Regions from separate parts of the Homo sapiens genome. Here regions 2 and 3 are each linked to region 1. The links are contacts of gene promoters, found by promoter capture Hi-C in human tissues and cell types (Jung and others, 2019). All regions are on one chromosome and are shown on one strand. The core of a region is centred on a gene start or on the middle of the fragment in contact, and the rest is flanking DNA. Distances in the headings are between cores, read along the strand shown. Region 1 holds the start of OVOL3 (ovo like zinc finger 3). Region 2 holds the start of PRODH2 (proline dehydrogenase 2). Region 3 overlaps NPHS1 (NPHS1 adhesion molecule, nephrin).

Evidence for each region. The method cuts DNA at HindIII sites, captures the fragments that hold promoters and counts their contacts. A contact is called where the count stands out against the background at its distance.
Region 2: a contact is called between the fragment with the promoter of PRODH2 here and the fragment with the promoter of OVOL3 in region 1, in 1 of the 25 tissues and cell types used here (mesenchymal stem cells).
Region 3: a contact is called between a fragment that was not itself captured here and the fragment with the promoter of OVOL3 in region 1, in 2 of the 25 tissues and cell types used here (mesenchymal stem cells and spleen).

Annotation. Positions count from the first base shown.
Region 1 is chr19:36,109,149-36,112,995 of GRCh38, forward strand. It overlaps OVOL3 (ovo like zinc finger 3), which reads left to right and starts at 1,995. Exons shown (of 4, transcript NM_001302757.2): 1 at 1,995-2,148; 2 at 2,221-2,285; 3 at 3,612-3,816. The coding sequence starts at 2,055. It also overlaps a transcript of WDR62 not described here. RefSeq lists enhancers at 1,594-2,224, 2,225-2,854. The HindIII fragment of the contact is 22,945 bases long and covers 1-3,847 here.
Region 2 is chr19:35,811,240-35,815,086 of GRCh38, forward strand. PRODH2 (proline dehydrogenase 2) reads right to left here and starts at 1,606. Exons shown (of 10, transcript NM_021232.2): 1 at 1,393-1,606; 2 at 1,121-1,317; 3 at 895-1,033; 4 at 723-809. The coding sequence starts at 1,566. The HindIII fragment of the contact is 15,660 bases long and covers 1-3,847 here.
Region 3 is chr19:35,846,513-35,850,359 of GRCh38, forward strand. NPHS1 (NPHS1 adhesion molecule, nephrin) reads right to left here. Exons shown (of 29, transcript NM_004646.4): 6 at 3,038-3,141; 7 at 2,724-2,851; 8 at 2,464-2,635; 9 at 2,125-2,282; 10 at 1,741-1,885; 11 at 1,529-1,653. Among named protein-coding and RNA genes, the nearest start is that of NPHS1, 4.1 kb to the right of the region's middle. RefSeq lists a silencer at 1,598-1,773. The HindIII fragment of the contact is 9,341 bases long and covers 1-3,847 here.

The DNA.
Region 1 (3,847 bases), core at 745-3,244:
AAATGAAGAAATACTCCTCTCACCAGCAAGCCTTGTACAGATGTCCCCCTCTGACTAGAACACCCTCCCCTTTCATCTGAAACCTTTCAGCGCTTATCCAGGAAGCCATCCCTGTACCCGTAGCCTGGATCAGGAGCCTGTTCGGGTCCCCAGGTACCCCTCTTTTCCCCATCATGGCTGGGTCTCTGCCTCACTTGCCTCTCACTGTCTTGGTCATTCTGGGCTGTCACTGGTGTGCCTCCTTCATGGACTTACGCGATCATTTTCAGTAAGCTAGGTCTGGAGCTTAGAAAATTGTTTAGTTGCCAGGCGCAATGGCTCACGCCTGTAATCCCAGCACTTTGGGAGGTTGAGGCAGGTGGATCACTCGAGGTCAGGAGTTTGAGACCAGCCTGCCCAACATGGTGAAACCCTATCTCTACTAAAAATACAAAAATTAGCCGGGTGTGGTGGTGCGCACCTGTAGTCCCAGCTACTTGGGGGACTGAGGCAGCAGAATCGCTTGAACCCAGGAGACGGAGGCTGCAGTGTGTGGAGATCGTACCACTGCACTCCAGCCTGGGCAACAGAGTGAGAATCTGTCTCAAAAAACAAAACAAAACAAAACAAAAAAAATAAAAACAGGTTGGGCGCGGTGGCTCACGCCTGTAATCCCAGCACTTTGGGAGGCTGAGCCGGGCGGATCACCTGCATTTAGGAGTTTGAGACCAGCCTGGCCAACATGGTGAAACCCCATCTCTACAAAAAACACAAAAAATCAGCTGGGTGCAGTGGTGTGCCCCTGTAATCCCAGCTACTTGGAAGGCTGAGGCAGGAGACTCACTTGAACCCAGGAGGCGGAGGTCATAGAGGAGCCAAGATCACGCCATTGCACTCCAGCCTGGGCAACGAGCAAAACTCCGCCTCAAAAAAAAAAAATTAAAAAACAGAGCTTGGATTGCTTCTTAGTCTTCTGGCTAAGAATCAAGTGTAAAACAGCTTGGCCAGTGTGCCGGGGTAGGGTCCTGGGAGCCCCTGGCTGTGTCAAGAGACCCCCTTTGGGCCAGGTGCGGTGGCTCATGCCTGTAATCCCAGCACTTTGGGAGGCCAAGGCAGGCGGATCACTTGACGTCAGGAGTTCAAGACTAGCCTGGCCAACATGGTGAAACTCTGTCTCTACCAAAAATACAAAAATTAGCCCGGTGTGGTGGTGCATGCCTGTAGTCCCAGCTACTCAGGAGGCTGAGGCAGGAGAATCGTTTGAACCCGGGAGGTGGAGGTTCCAGTGAGCCAAGATGGTGCCACTGCACTCCAGCCTGGGCAACAAGAGTGAAACTCCGTCTCAAAAAAAGAAAAAAAAATAGGAGACCCCCTTTTACTTTCCAGACTGTGGGAGGGAGGAAGAGTGTTGTCCCAGGCAGTAACTAGGGGCTAGATTATTAACAAACTAGTATTTTAGTGCCTGCTACACCTGAACAGTGCTTCTGGCTGAATGTTAGCCCTGGGAATCTGAAGATCAGAGAGGTGGGGCATCCTACCTGAGGATGCACAGCCTGGATCCTCATTTTGCCCTGATTTATCCAGATCTGCTGTCCTCCCTGCACCCTACAGAGCAGGGCAATCACAGCAGGGGGCCCCTTCAGTGTCCTCAGACAGCTGCTGTGATTTGAATAACCAGGCAGGCTGCTGGATGTCCCCTGGTGACTGATTTGCCTGGCAAACAGACCCTCAACCCCTGGGAGACAGTCCCCCTGGGGCCTTGTTTCTTCTTCCTATCCTCAAAAGCTCCCCAGGCCCATCTCCCCTTGCCTGGCTCTGCTTGGTGGTCCTAGTGCTTGTCCACCCCTGGAGGCTGGATGGTTCCCTCCAAAACCTGGGAGAAGATGGGCAGGTCCCCAGGCAGGGGTAACCTGAGCCAGCTTAGTCCACTCCCAGGGCCAGCCAGGAAATTTGCATGAAGAGAATGAGGTTCCTCAGAGGCTTCCCCTCCTTTCCCACCAGGGATAGTCATCCTGGGGCTGAGGTCTGACAGCAGGTGGAAGCAGCCCCTGTGTGTGGAGAGCCTTCCGGAGGGCATGCCCCGCGCCTTCCTGGTCAGGAGTCGGCGTCCACAGCCCCCCAACTGGGGCCATCTGCCTGACCAGCTCCGGGGAGATGCCTATATCCCAGGTGGGCCCCTCACTGTGCCTGGAGGTAAGGGGCAGGAGAGACGCAGTGTCACCATCTGGCTTTTCTCCTCAGACTGCAGCAGCCTGGGGGGGCCACCGGCACAACAGTCGTCCAGTGTCAGGGATCCGTGGACAGCGGTGAGTGTGTAACTGGCTAGCAAAGCCAGCTGTTTCGCTCCTGCCTGCTCTCAGCCTTAATGAAGCTGACAGCCCCTTGCTCCCCCGACCCATCTGCACACGCCCTCCAGCCTCGGGACCTGTCCGCCCCTACTTCTCTGTGTTGGGAATGCCTCTCCTTTCCTAGTAGTGAGCTCTCTACTGTTAGGTCTCACCCCAGGCACCAGGGCCGGCAGCCACAGGGATCTCTTCCAGCGGGGCACAAGATTCATCCCCACATGTGGATGATCCGCTTTATGTCAGAACATGGGACAAGGCAACAGGAGTGCGATGGGAGATAAGGGCTTTTTCAGCTGTGCATGCATTGGAGGAAGGAAAGCGCCAGCCGGAATGTAATATATTCATGAAAGCAAGGCACTGTTCTAGGCATGGGCTGTTATATTCAGCGGGAATAAGACAAAAATCCACAATTTTATGGAGCTTATATTCTGGTTGGGGCTGCATGTATAGACAATAAAATTAGTCAGCCTGTAATTCCAGCACTTTGGGAGGCCGAGGCGGGTGAATCACTTGAGGTCATGAGTTCGAGACCAGGCTGGCCAACATGTTGAAACCTTGTCTCTACTAAAATTACAAACATTAGCCAGACATGGTGGCACGTGCCTGTAATCCCAGCTCCTCAGGAGGCTGAGGCAGGAGAATCAGTTGAACCTAGGAGGCAGGGCAGAGGATGCAGTGAGCCGAGTCTGCGCCACTGCACTCCAGCCTGGGAAACAGATCTAGACTCCATCCCCCCTCAAAAAAAACAATAAAATTAGAAAAATAGACCGGGCATAGTGGCTCATGCCTGTAATCCCAGCACTTTGTGAGGCCAAGGTGGGTGGATTGCTTGAGGTCAGGAATTCAAGACCAGCCTGGCCAACATGGTGAAACCCCATCTCTACAAAAAATAAAAAAATTAACTGGGCATGTGGCGCATGCCTACAATCGTGTAATCGTGGGGAGGCTGAGGCACTAGAATCGCTTGAACCCGGGAGGCGGAGGTTGCAGTGACCTGACATCATACCACTTCACTCCTGCCTGGGCGACAGAGCAAGACTCTGTCTTTAAAAAAAAAAAATGTGTATGTCACATCAGAAGATGGGACTTGGCATAGAGAAAGTAAGGACCATGGGATAGTGAGGGAAGGCCCTGGAGAGTGACAGGCACACACACTAATCACTGTCTCCCACCTGCCTTCCTAATCCTCCGTGGTGGCTCAGGACACTCTGTAAATACTCATTTGCAGAGTAACAAAGGGTGGATGGGGTCCAGCCAGAGAGGCTAATAACTCCTGCATCCCTCCAGCAGCCCACACAGGGCAACCTGACCTCTGCTCCCAGGGGCCCTGGGACGCTGGGCTGCCCGCTCTGCCCTAAGGCCTTCCCTCTGCAGCGCATGCTGACAAGGCACCTCAAGTGCCACAGCCCCGTGCGCCGCCACCTGTGCCGCTGTTGTGGCAAGGGCTTTCATGACGCCTTCGATCTCAAGCGCCACATGAGGACTCACACTGGTGAGCAGTGGCAGGGACAGGGAAAAGTTGC
Region 2 (3,847 bases), core at 356-2,855, 300 kb before region 1:
AACAAAAAGATATGCATTATACAAGACGGCAGGCTGGGTGTGGTGGCTCACACCTATAATCCCAGAACTTTGGGGGGCTGAGGCTGGGGGATTGCTTGAGGCCATGAGTTAGAGACCACCCTGTGCAATACAGTAAGACAAAGAGAAAGAGAGAGAGAGAGAGAGAGGAGGGAGGAGAGAGAAGGAAGGAAGGAAGGAATAAAGGAAGGAAGGAAGGAAGGGAGGGAGGGAGGGAGGGGAGAGAAGGAAAAAGAAAAGAAGGAAGGAAGGAGAGAGAGCAAAAGAGGAAGAGGAAGGAAGGAGAGAGAGAGAAAGAAAGAAAAAAAGATGGAGTAGGGTTGAAAGAGAATGTGGAGATAAAAAGGAATTAATGATTGAATGAACAAACTAAGACCCCATTGGCCTAATCAGAACTTACACCCAGCCAGCTCACACCCATGCAGCTGTGTTGACTGAGAACACACTGATGTACCTCCTTCTAATTGATAAACAGCTTCTATCCCAATCCCTCCTCTGAGAGCCTCCAGCCTCCAGGCTCCTCCCTGAGAACCCAGATGACCCTGATTCCATCCATTTCAACCATGCCTGGGAGCTACAGCTGCACTTCTGCTGGCTGTTCCAAGCCTGGAGGTGGCCGTAGCATTTTGAACATCTGGCGTGCGGTGTGGCCGCATCTAAGTCCAAGGCACTCTGTCCCCGACAGTCCCGCTTGAGATCCTTACCTGCCCAGAGTCCATAGCTTCAGCCAGCCTCTCGGGGCTCAGCTCCAAGGAGGCTCCTGGCCTTCTGACCCACGAGGCTAGCTCCTTCTGAAATGGGGTGGTAGGCGGGGTGGTGAGGGGAGCCCGATGGGCAGCCGCGCCCTCCCCGCACCCCCGTCTTTGCACTCCTTACACAGAGCCGAGTACTGGTCAGCGCCGTCACCTTCAGCTGCATGAGGCTGGCCTCAGCCAGGCTGGGGGGCTCCAGGAGGCCCCGTGACAGGTCCACACACCGCAGCATAGCACCGAGGTTCCCCTCATACCACGCCTCACTGCCCAGCCAGCAGGTGTCAGGGCCCGAACAGCAAAGCCCCTTCCTGCGTCCTCCCAGCCTCCCTGGGCCCTGGCTCCCTACTCACCCACTCTTGGCAGCAGAGTCCGGCTCCTCCTCAGTGGGCACTGCCAGCAGTGGTCGGAGGCTGAGGGTCCGCAGCTGCTGCACGCAGCCCTTCACCTCCTCTGCTGTCTCACCAGCCACAAACTGCCCATAGACGGATGCTCGGAGAAATGCGCCTGAGAGCCGGGAGCCCAGGAGTCGCCGAGACCAGGCCTGGAGCTGGGTGACAGGGAGCGAGGGCTCAGCGCCAGGCTATGAGGAGCCTCCAGGCTGGTCCTCAGGATCACTGCTCACCAACAGCCCGTGAGTGACGAGTGGGGGCCAGGCACACAGCCGGAGAACCAGCAAGGCCCGTGTCAGCTCTCCTGTGCCCTTAAGGTGGAAGGCCCCGCCATCAAAGCTCAGGGACTGCCAGCCCCTGGAGGGGGGACCAGCTTGGGAACAGAGCACGTAACAGGTCCGGAGCATCCTGGGTCCCTGGCTGCCTCCACACCAGGGAAGGTTCTCTGGAGGCAGCAAGTTCACCAACTGCCCCTTGCCCAGACCAGGGGCAGTGACTGATTAACTGGGCAAAGCCTCAGGATCACAGGCTCCTTGGGGGCAATTAATTATTAACAAATGGGGACAGAGTTCAGAGTAACGGAAACGGGAGGTGAACCCCAGTAACAGCCCCCAAGAATGCTCAGCACAACAGCCTGCACTTATTAGGTAACCACCATGTGCTGGGGAAAGCAGGGGCTCCGGAGCAAGGATCCCTGGGCTCAGGACACCGGGCTTTGTGATCCAGGACAGGCTACTTAATCACTTTTGTGGCAATTGCTTCCTCTTAAAATTGGAAACGCTGTAGTGTTATTGAATACATTTGAAAATACGGTTCTCACGTTTGTAATCCCAACACTTTGGGAGGCCAAGACCGAGGAGTTTGAGACTACCCTGGGCGACATAGTGAGACCCCATCTCTACAAAAAATACAAAAATTAACTGTGTGTGGTGGCACACACCTGTGGTCCTAGCTACTCAGGAGGCCGAGGAAGGTGGATCTCTTGAGCCTGGGAGGTCAAGGGTGCAGTGAGCTGTGATTGTGCCACTGCACTCCACCCTGGGTGACAAAGTGAGACTCTGTCGCCAAAAAAAGAAAAAAGAAAAGACAAATAACCTATATAACCCAGCTGTTCCATGCTAAGTACATATCCTAGAGACCTTAAACATGGACAGCAGGAAACATGTACAGGAAAGAATGTTCAGAGGAGCAGTGTCTGAACTACCCAAATGTCCATCAAAAGGAGAATGGATACATATATGGTGGTGTAGTTATGCAATGGAATACTATACAGTAATGAAAAAGAATGGATACTGATACACACAACTGTGTGGCTGAATCTCACAATGTCAAGTGAAAGAAGCCAGACACCAAACAGGGCAAGCTGTATTATTCTTTTTTTTTTTTTTTTTTTTTTTTTTTTGAGACACAGTTTCACTCTTGTTGCCCAGGCTAGAGTGCAATGGCACAATCTCAGCTCACTGCAACCTTCACCCCCCGGGTTCAAGCGATTCTCTTGCCTCAGCTTCCAGAGTAGCTGGGATTACAGGCATGTGCCACCACGCCCCACTAATTTTGTATTTTTAGTAGAGACAGGGTTTCTCCATGTTGGTCAGACTGGTCTTGAACTCCCGACCTCAGGTGATCTGCCCGCCTCAGCCTTCCAAAGTGCTGGGATTACAGGCATGAGCCACTGTGGCTGGTCTATACTTTTCAATAAATATAAAAGCAAGGAAAGTGAAACTGCAGTAAAATGTTGGGAATACATGCGTGGGTGGTCAAACTATGAGGACAAGAAAAGTAAGGACATGATTATCACAGAAGTCAGAGAGGTGGTTGATTGTGGGGGATGGGAGGAATTGTAATGGGGTAGAGGGATATGGGGACTTCTATATCCTATTTTCTTTTTTTAAAATGGAAACCATATGTCTTAATTTTTTTGTTTTGTTTTGTTAGACGTATCCTTGCTCTGTCACCCAGGCTGGAGTGCAGTGGTGCGATCTCGGCTCACTGCAACCCCCATCTCCCGGGTTCAAGTGATTCTTCTGCTTTAGCCCCCTGAGTAGCTGGGACTACAGGCACCCACCACCACACCTGGCTAATTTTTGTATTTTTGTAGATATGGGGTTTCACCATGTTGGCCAGGCTGGTCTTGAGCTCCTGACCTCAAGTGATCCACCCTACTTGTCCTCCCAACATGCTGGGATTACAGGCGTGAAGTCCTAGGTCTTTTTTTTTTTTTTTTTTTTTTTTTGAGACAGAGTCTTACTCTGTTGCCCAGGCTGGAGTGCAGTGGCACGATCTCGGCTCACTACAGCCTCTGCCCCCGGGTTCAAGCAATTATCCTGCCTCAGCCTCCCGAGTAGCTAGGATTACAGGCGTCTGCCACCGCGCCTGGCTAACTTTTGTGTTTTTAGTAGAGTCACGGTTTCACCATCTTGGCCAGGCTGGTCTTGAACTCCTGACCTCATGATCCACCTGCCTTGGCCTCCCAAAGTGCTGGGATTACAGGTGTGAGCCACTGTGCCTGGCAGTGGCTTCTAGGTCCTAGGAGTCCTAGGTCTTAACATGGATGATGATTCATAGTTGTTCACATTGTAAGGTTTTTTTTGTTTTGTTTTTGAGACAGAGTCTTGCTCTGTCTTCCAGGCTGGAGTGCAGTGGGGTGATCACTGCTCACTGCAGCCTCAAACTTCTGGGCTCAAGCAA
Region 3 (3,847 bases), core at 611-3,110, 260 kb before region 1:
AAATCTATTTCTGCTGTGTTTACCCAACACCACCTGCAGGAAACTCCCTTGAAATTCCCAGGCCTTTCCCAGAGTTCCTCAGTTCCTTTTCTTAAAATTCCTGCTGTCCCCAAAGATTTCCTTTGAAATTTTCCTTAATTCCAGTGTCTTTCCATAGATTACTTCCTTTTTTTATTATTGCTGCTGCACAAATTAAACTTTCCATAGATTTCTGAATCTTTCCCGATATTATAATATCTTATGATCCCAGTCTTTTAACAGATTCCTTTGTATTGCCCAGATTCTCAGCACTTCCCCAGAATTCCATCCAATTAAAATAAAATTCCATTGTCATTTCTATAATTTCTAGTCTTCCCCCCAAAGTTTTCAACTAGCTCCCTAATTCCCAGGATTCTCCTAGAATTCTATTAGGCTTCTCTTTCATTTTAATGAAATTTCATTTTCTTGCCTCCAAATCCCAAGAGTTCAGTTTAATACTAATGAATTTCCGATAGTCTGTGGAATTACTAGCTTTTCTCCAAATTTTCTTTTCTTTTCTTTTCTTTTTTTTTGAGACGGAGTCTCCCTCTGTCACCCAGGCTGGAGTGCAGTGGCACGATCTCGGCTCACTGCAAGCTCCGCCTCCCGGGTTCACGCCATTCTCCTGCCTCAGCCTCCCGAGTAGCTGGGACTACAGGCACCTGCCACCACGCCTGGCTAATTTTTTGTATTTTTAGTAGAGACGGAGTTTCACCGTGTTAGCCAGGATGGTCTCGATCTCCTCACCTCGTGATCCGCCCGCCTCAGCCTCCCAAAGTGCTGGGATTACAGGCGTGAGCCACTGTGCCCAGCCTTTTTTTTTTTTTTTTTTTTTTTTTTTGAGACGGAGTTTCGGTCTCGTTGCCCAGACTGGAGTGCAGTGGCACAACCTCGGCTCACCACAACCTGGGCCTCCCGGATTCAAGCAATTCTCCAGCCTCAGCCTCTCCAGTAGCTGGGATTACAGGCCCCCGCCACCATGCCCAGCTAATTTTTTGTATTTTTAGTAGAGACAGGGTTTCTCCATGTTGGTCAGGCTGGTCTCTAACTCCCGACTTCAGGTGATCCGTCTACCTCGGCCTCCTAAAGTGCTTGGATTACAGGCGTGAGCCACTGTGCCCAGCCAAATTTTACAGCATTGTTTTTTTTTTTTTTCTGGGATTCAAGTCTTTCCCTAAAATTCCTGACATTTCACCTGAATTCTGAGGGTTTTCACTAGAATTTTCTTTAATTTTAATGAAATTACCTTTTCTCTAGAATGCCTAATCTTGATTCAGAATTCCAATTTTTATCCTAAAATTCTCACTGTTTCCCCAGAATTTTCCTAGGATTCCATTTAATTCTCATAGCATTTGTGTCTTTCCTGATTCCCTGCCAAACCTCAGAATCTTTAGTACTTTTCAAGAAATTTAATCTTTTTCCAAGATTGCCCAAGATTCTGAAGGAGAGAAGGGGCCTGGTCCTTCCCCCACATTCCTGGCCACCCCCATAGCCCTGGCGTGGCACCAACCTTGTACCACATGAGGGAGGGCTCTGGGTTGCCCCCGATAGCCAAACACACCAGCCTCACCCGGGTCCCAGCCCGGAGCTTCTGGCCCTCTGGGGGACCCTCAATCCACAGTTTCTGGGCGGGATCTGGCGGGGAGAGGAAGGAAGAATGACTTTTTCTCTGTGCTGGGTCCTGAGGCTTGGGGGCATTGCTGGGCCAGGGCAGGGGCTCACATTTTACGTTCAGGATGAGCGACTTCTTGAAGGTCTCCTTGGTGAAGGCTTCACTGAAGGCCTCACATGTGAGGGTCAGACCGTTGTCCTCCCGCCGCGCCAGGAATGTCAGGTTGGACATGGAGATGTGACCGCCATGCAGTCCCTGGCAGGGAGTGAGCTTCAGACGTGGGGACTGCAGCACCCCTATCCATCGTGCTAGAGGCCTGAGTCCATCCCAGTCCCCAGCAGGGACACAGGAGACATCTCTACCTCCCCCTCTGTTGGACCCATGGTCCTCAAGGAGAAAGCCCCCCAGGCTGCTGGACCCACCCCTTCCCTATCCACGAGTCATGCCCTCAGCCCCCTCCATGCTCAGACCCAGGAGCCTGGCCCCCGCCTCACATCCATGACTGTCTCCTCCATGGGCAGCAGCTGCCGCCAGCCCAGCCACCATCGTAGCAGAACCCGCGGGCGACTGGACTTGCTGACACAGGAGAGTGTCACGTTCTTGTTCTCAGTCTGGGATGCAGATCCCAAGATAATAATGGCACTAGGGGGAACTGCAGGGACAGAGAAGGAAGACACTAAGCTGGGCTGGATTTCTCACAGACCAGCCCAGACAGAACAGGACTGGAGACAGATGCTGAGATCTTTGGCATCCAGTAGGCATAATTTGGGGGCACACACAGATGGTTCTCTGAGGCACAGACCGACAGGGGGGCAGCTGGCACCAGGACTCACAGGTGACCTGCAGTGTGATGCCGTGCTCCTGGGTCCCTGCAGACACGCTGTTGTGGGCCTCGCAGCTGAGCTGCGCTCCATGGTCTTCTGGCCTCACGGTCATCACCAGCACACTGCGGGCCACCGCCTGGGTGTGCTCTGTGCCCCACGCTGTGGACACCGGCTGGCCATTCTGGAGACAGGGACAGGCCTGGGCCAGCTCAGGACTGGCTCCCAGACCCCACTGTCCCCCCATTCCCCATGCCCGCGTTTGCCCTCACCTTCAGCCACTGCAGTGTGGCTAAGGGATTACCCCCTCGGGCCACGCACGGCAGCTCCAAGCTCTGTCCTGCCCGCACGTGCCCCTCATCCAGGCCTGGCCACTCGATGACAGGGGGTCCTGGAGGGACTGGGGGATATCAGTCACTCAGTGGGCCTGGAGTAGCCCATCCACTCTTTCCAGGCCCCACAACCTGCCTTTGAACCCCCATGTTTCTCTGAGTGCCTGAATTTCCATAATCCCTGTGATCCCCCCACACCCCCCAGTGCCTGCTCCCCATCCTCAGCGCCCTAGTTGGCCCAGTTCTCCACTTACACAGAACATTCACGGTGAATGAGGCCTTGATGGGGGCCTCCAGTGCTGGGCTAGACGCCTCACAGACCAGCAACTGCCTATTATCTGAGCTCCGGGGTGTCACCCTGGGATGAGAAGTCAGGGTTATAGAGTCAGAGTCATCATCTGAAATTTGGGGAGTCAGGGAGAAGAGGTGGGGATGTCACCTCTGGTCCCCACACCTGGTCTAAGTCCCCATGCTGATCTCCTCTGGGATCCAGGGTTCCATGGGAGAGATTTTGGGGGTGAACAGTGAGAATTGGAGCCTAGAGAGCCCCACATCTGACCAAAACTTTAGTGCTTGGGACTCTAGAACTGAGGTTCCCATGAAGTTTTTTTGTTTGTTTATTTGTTTGTTTGTCTTTTGAGACAGAATCTGGCTCTATCACCCAGGCTGGAGTGCAGTGGTACAATCTCAGCTCACTGCAACCTCCACTTCTTGGGTTCAAGTGATTCTCCTGCCTCAGCCCCCTGAGGAGCTGGGAGTACAGGCATGCGCCACCACACCCGGCTAATTTTTGTATTTTTAGTGAAAACAGGGTTTCACCATGTTGACCCAGCTGATCTTGAACTCCTGACCTCAGGTGATCCGCCCACCTCAGCCTCCCAAAGTGCTGGGATTACAGGCATGAGCCACCACCTCTGTTCCCCATGAAGAAGCTTTGAGAGTCAGGATGAAGAATTGGGTCCCAGATGTTCATACCTAGCCCAAGCTTCATGCTTGCATCCCTGGGGTCTGGGGTTCCCATGGGGAAAATTAGGGGTCAAGGTTGGGGGGTTGTTTCAGTTTCC